Regions from separate parts of the Homo sapiens genome. Here region 2 is linked to region 1. The links are contacts of gene promoters, found by promoter capture Hi-C in human tissues and cell types (Jung and others, 2019). All regions are on one chromosome and are shown on one strand. The core of a region is centred on a gene start or on the middle of the fragment in contact, and the rest is flanking DNA. Distances in the headings are between cores, read along the strand shown. Region 1 holds the start of SCN4A (sodium voltage-gated channel alpha subunit 4). Region 2 overlaps TEX2 (testis expressed 2).

What was found. Contacts are between HindIII fragments. The study calls those that stand out against the background at their distance.
Region 2: a fragment that was not itself captured here is called in contact with the fragment with the promoter of SCN4A in region 1 in 3 of the 25 tissues and cell types used here (mesendoderm cells, spleen and thymus).

Annotation. Positions count from the first base shown.
Region 1 is chr17:63,971,537-63,974,227 of GRCh38, reverse strand. SCN4A (sodium voltage-gated channel alpha subunit 4) reads left to right here and starts at 1,310. Exons shown (of 24, transcript NM_000334.4): 1 at 1,310-1,659; 2 at 1,758-1,876; 3 at 2,003-2,092; 4 at 2,378-2,506. The coding sequence starts at 1,387. The HindIII fragment of the contact is 21,993 bases long and covers 1-2,691 here.
Region 2 is chr17:64,253,265-64,255,955 of GRCh38, reverse strand. All of the region lies in intron 1 of TEX2 (testis expressed 2), which reads left to right. Among named protein-coding and RNA genes, the nearest start is that of TEX2, 8.6 kb to the left of the region's middle. The HindIII fragment of the contact is 4,207 bases long and covers 1-2,691 here.

The DNA of each region.
Region 1 (2,691 bases), core at 61-2,560:
TGAGAAGCGCCCGTGCTGACCAGGGCAGGGGCGCTGCTGCAAGGGTCAAGGCCCACTGGGAGAGGTCCACCCTCAGGTGTGGCTTTGGGGGTCTCTAGGGGTCTGTCCAGGTCCCTGTGGTGCAGGGGTGGCTCCAGGTCTGTCCATGTGGGTCTGGCAGTGGCTGCCTGCAGCTGGTCTGCAGGGGTCTCACTGCAACTGCCTGCTGATGTGGTCATTCCCCCAGGGCCATTTGCAATAAGTGATCCCCCTTCCCTTCCACAGGAATAGGCTCTGGAGGGCTGGGCAGAAGGGGAGAGGGGCCAGGTGGGGCCCAGACCACACAATGCTCACAGGCATCAAAGGCTCCTTGTGGATGCCCCTTCCCCCAATCCAGCTTGTGCTGGGACCACCAGCCAAAAGCAGTCCCCAGGAGCTCTAGCCCTGCCCCCACCATTGGAGTTGTCCATCTCCTTGTCCCTGTGACCTTCCCTGTACGTCTTCTCTTCCACGTTAGCACCTGCAGCTCTCCAGATGCAATGTTCCTCTCCCAGTTCACCCTGCCTGCCCAGTGGGCTAGAGCCCCCAGGGCTGTGGGAGGGAACTGCTAGGAGACCCCTGCCGGGCCCAGGGCCCTTTCTTCTTCCCTCTCCCAGCCCAACACCAAGTACCCCAAAGATCAGGAAAGAGGAATCCACACCCACCCCCATCTTTCTTTTCCCTTCCCTCCAGGCCAGGGATGGCAAACACAGGCAGAGGCACCACGGTCTTCCTCCTTGCGCCCCTGGCAGACATCACTAATCAATCACAGCAACCTTTTTGCACAGAGCCTGGCTGCCACCTTCATGGTCTCCACCTACATCTCCAGGTGGCCAATATCAGGATCCACGTCGGCCCTCAGGGTGAAGTCCCTGTGCCAGTCCCACTTTGATCTAACCCCCCAACCAGGCCCCTCATCCTGGCCTATCCAGAGGTCGCCTGAGCACAGCCAGCTGTGGTTCTCTCTCTGTCCCATTAGGCTGAAGCCACACAGTTCCCGGAGCTTGGGCCCAGGAGGCAGTCGAAGGCACTGGGGTGTTGACCCCAAGTCCCAAGGCCACAAAGAATCTGGTTGGTTTGCCGTCGGTCCTGAGGGCAGCCGCTGCCACTTCTGGGGAAAGTGTGGTGGGGGGGCCAGGGGTGATGCTCTGTGCCCAGCACCTGTGCAGCAGCAGCACCTTGCAGGCACATCTCCCAGTCCTGATAGAGTCTGCACGCCCACCTCCCCGGCTCGGCCACTGGGCAAGCAGGAGGTGAGGAGTGGACGGCCCGCCCAGGGAGGGGCGGCCGCCCAGCACCCCGGGGCTGCGCACTGCAGCTCCCCAGGCCACCCACCACCCTTCTGGTCTCTGAGCCCAGGATGCGAGGATGGCCAGACCATCTCTGTGCACCCTGGTGCCTCTGGGCCCTGAGTGCTTGCGCCCCTTCACCCGGGAGTCACTGGCAGCCATAGAACAGCGGGCGGTGGAGGAGGAGGCCCGGCTGCAGCGGAATAAGCAGATGGAGATTGAGGAGCCCGAACGGAAGCCACGAAGTGACTTGGAGGCTGGCAAGAACCTACCCATGATCTACGGAGACCCCCCGCCGGAGGTCATCGGCATCCCCCTGGAGGACCTGGATCCCTACTACAGCAATAAGAAGGTCTGGGCCTGGGAAGGCTTCCTCTGTCTGTCTGCCATCCATCCATCTGTCTGCCTGTCTGTCTGTCCCTGGGTCTCACAGCCTCTCTCCCACCTTAGACCTTCATCGTACTCAACAAGGGCAAGGCCATCTTCCGCTTCTCCGCCACACCTGCTCTCTACCTGCTGAGCCCCTTCAGCGTAGTCAGGCGCGGGGCCATCAAGGTGCTCATCCATGCATATCCTGCCCAAGATGGGAGAGGCGGGAGGGGTTAGGGATGGGCGAGATGGGGTGCTGTGGCCCAGGAGACCCTCTATCACCTCCCATCCTAGCTGCTTCCTCACTTTCCTTGACCCTGCCCCACGCTGTTCAGCATGTTCATCATGATCACCATCTTGACCAACTGCGTATTCATGACCATGAGTGACCCGCCTCCCTGGTCCAAGAATGTGGAGTAAGTCTCCCTGCTCCCTGAGCTCCCCAGCCCTGGGACACAGCCCATCTCAGGTGTTTGCACCTCTGTGTGGTGCTGCTCTTGTCTTTCAGGGAGACACACTGTCATTGTGACCCTCATCCACACCTTGAGTCCCTGGGGTGGCCATGCTATCACTCGCTAGTGTCCTTAGCCACCTGAGTGGCATATTTCATTTCTGTGTCCCTCCCTTCTGGGGGTCTGTCGTTGCCACACTGACCCCTACCCAGGTGACATGCCTGTCCCGGCCGGCCCTCTCCCCCCCAGGTACACCTTCACAGGGATCTACACCTTTGAGTCCCTCATCAAGATACTGGCCCGAGGCTTCTGTGTCGACGACTTCACATTCCTCCGGGACCCCTGGAACTGGCTGGACTTCAGTGTCATCATGATGGCGTGAGCAGGGGCCCCAGGACATCCTGAGGCTGGGGTGGGTGAGGGGAGGGGGCCAGGCCTTAAAGAGGGAAGCTGCCTGGGCTGAGGGCTGCAGGGGACATCGGTCAGTTGTGCAGATGGGGAGCTGCACAATTCTAGAAGCTGCCATTCTCAGGGTCTGGCTCAGCACTCTCCTGATGGACTCC
Region 2 (2,691 bases), core at 90-2,589, 280 kb before region 1:
TCCTCTGCTCTTGCCTGCAGTTGTTTGCTTTAGTGTTTGGATGCGGGCAGATCTTTCACCTTTTTTCCTGATAAGAGGAGACAGAGACTACTGGCCTTACAGCCAGGTGGTCAAACATGACAACTCGGAGTTGCTGTGTGCAAAACCTGCCTGAACCCCATCTCCAGCGAGATTTGATGATGTTTCCCCATTCAAAGGAACAACCACGCCTCAGGACCATACAAGGAGAGGACTTCATGAAACAGGTCACTGGCTTGGGATAGTCAATAAAGTGCTATGAACCCAGCCATATTTAAGTTATAGTTATCTTGTAAAGTATGTGTGAGGCCTCATCAAATTTGTATATAATTGACTAAGTTTTTCAAAATATCTTTTGCTCTGGAATTTTAAAAAACATACACAAAAGTGAAGAATAATATAATGGATATCAGGCATCTATTACTCAATTTTGATAATTATCAACTTTTGCTAATCTTGTTCCAAGATAGTTCCACAATGAAGCATTGTTGGTGGATTTTCTGTCACAGTATAAATGTGTCTTTGGACTATAAAATCATTTGGTAGATATTCTAGAGAAAAAAATGCCTGCACACTGCATAATTATAGGGCTGGTGTTAGGTAGTTGAAATTCAGAATCTGAAATGAACATTTAGTGGAAACCTCTTACAGACTTGTGTATGAGAAGTAGGCATATAAAATTAAGAGTGCTTTCAAGATGACCAGTTAGTCTATGTATTTACTAAGTAGCAACTGTACTGGGCAGTGTGCAAGGTACATTTTTTTTTTTTAAAGGCCAGGTGCTGTGGCTTATGTCTGCAATCCCAGCACTTTGGGAGACCGAAGTGGAGGATCACTTGAGGCCAAGAGTTTGAGACCAGCCTAGGCAACATAGTGAGACCCTGCCTCTACAAAAAAAAAAAAAAAAAAGCCAGATGCAGTGACACACACCTGTAGTCCTAGCTACTTGGCAGGCTGAGCTGGGAGGAGGATTGCTTAAGCCTGGGAATTCAAGGCTGCTGTGAGCCATGATGGCACCACTGCACCACAGCGTTGGTGACAGAATAAGACCCTGTATCTAAAAATCAAACAAACAAAAAAGGACAGTGTTTGTCCACAGTGGCTCATAAAATTATGAGCCCATGATGAAGTCACAGGTTATTTTCAAACATTCTTAGCAAATGAATTTTACACAAAGCCCAAACTGTGAAACTGATTAAGAAGCAGTATTTTAGTGGCATATGTTACTTTAAGTTCAATTTATAGTATTCACTTGTAGCATGAAACAGGACACAAGTTAATATGTCGAAAGTTTCTATATGTTGAATTTCATTTTTATTTTTTAAAGGGGAAATTCACATCAAACATGCAAACAACCCTGTAGCAGTGCCTCTGTGCATCATGGTACAACAGACCATTAAACATTTGAAAGGTGGTTAGTGCAACTGAGAATTGGAAGCTTTAATTTTAATTAAGCTGAAACCGAAGCTTTAATTTTAATTTAAATAGTTCCATGTGCCCATATTGGACAGTATAGCTCCAGGGTTTATTAAACCACCATTCCTGGTGATAGGATAGAGCCCAGCACAAACTAATCTGGGCAACAAATCAAAGGGCACAAGTCGCATGTAGGTTCCAAACTCAGTACATTTTAGAGAAAAGGAGTTTGATTATGTAGTAGAAGGAAGAACTGCCTGGTGGGACTCATGATCTTCCTTTAAGAGCAAGGCTCAAAGACCTGGGGAGTTTTGATTTGATGCTATGATGTCTCCTGGGGCTCAGAATATTATGAAATGAGGAGTGAATCTCTGAGTGAAAAGAACTCAAGCTGCTTGTTGCATTGCGGAATGTCTCTAAGAGGTAGAGAGGCGTCTGTTAAGTGGCTTGTATGAAGGTTTCAGAAGGTAAGATGAGCCCCAGCTTTGGGAGTTGTGTTTGCTGCCAGGAGGGTTTAGAGGCTGCCTCTAGGCAACACCCAGGGGCTCAAAGAAGACAGACGCAGAGAGCATGAGCTGCTGGTCACCTCTCTATCCCCAGAGCATCGTAGATGCTTGATAAATGTGTTAAAAATGGATGACAGTTTCAGGAATAGATTTAGGAGTAAATAAGAGATGGGCTTGAAATTTTTCTAGAAATTCTGAAAAATAGGTGCCGAGGGAAGTGCAGTGCCAGTGAGCTGCAGAGTTTGTTCAGCCTGTGCTTTCTGCCAGAGGTAATTGACATTTCTCCTCACTACGAATGCAAGCTCGACCTCCCTCCTTTCGCCCTTATCTAGTCCTGCACCAAATACTGCTGATTTTTATCTTATAAACGACTCTTGGATGGTTCTTTTCTCTGAAGCTTCTCTGCCACTGTTCTAGTTTGGTGCAAACAACCATCTTTTTGCTTGGAATACTCCAGCAGCCCCTCACTGACCTGCCCTCATCTACCTCTACTCCTTTCTAATCTCTTCACCTCTCAGCAGTCTGAGTGGTCTTTAAAAAATTCCTATCATGGCCGGGCATGGTGGCTCACACCTGTAATCTCAACACTTGGGGAGGCTGAGGTGGGAGGACTGCCTGAGCCCAGGAGTTCGACACCAGCCTGGGCAACATAGTGAGACCCTGTCTACAAAAAAAAAAAAAAGAAAGAAAGAAAGAAGGAAAAATTAAAATTAGCTGGGTTTGGTGGCCTGTGCCTGTGGTCCCAATTACT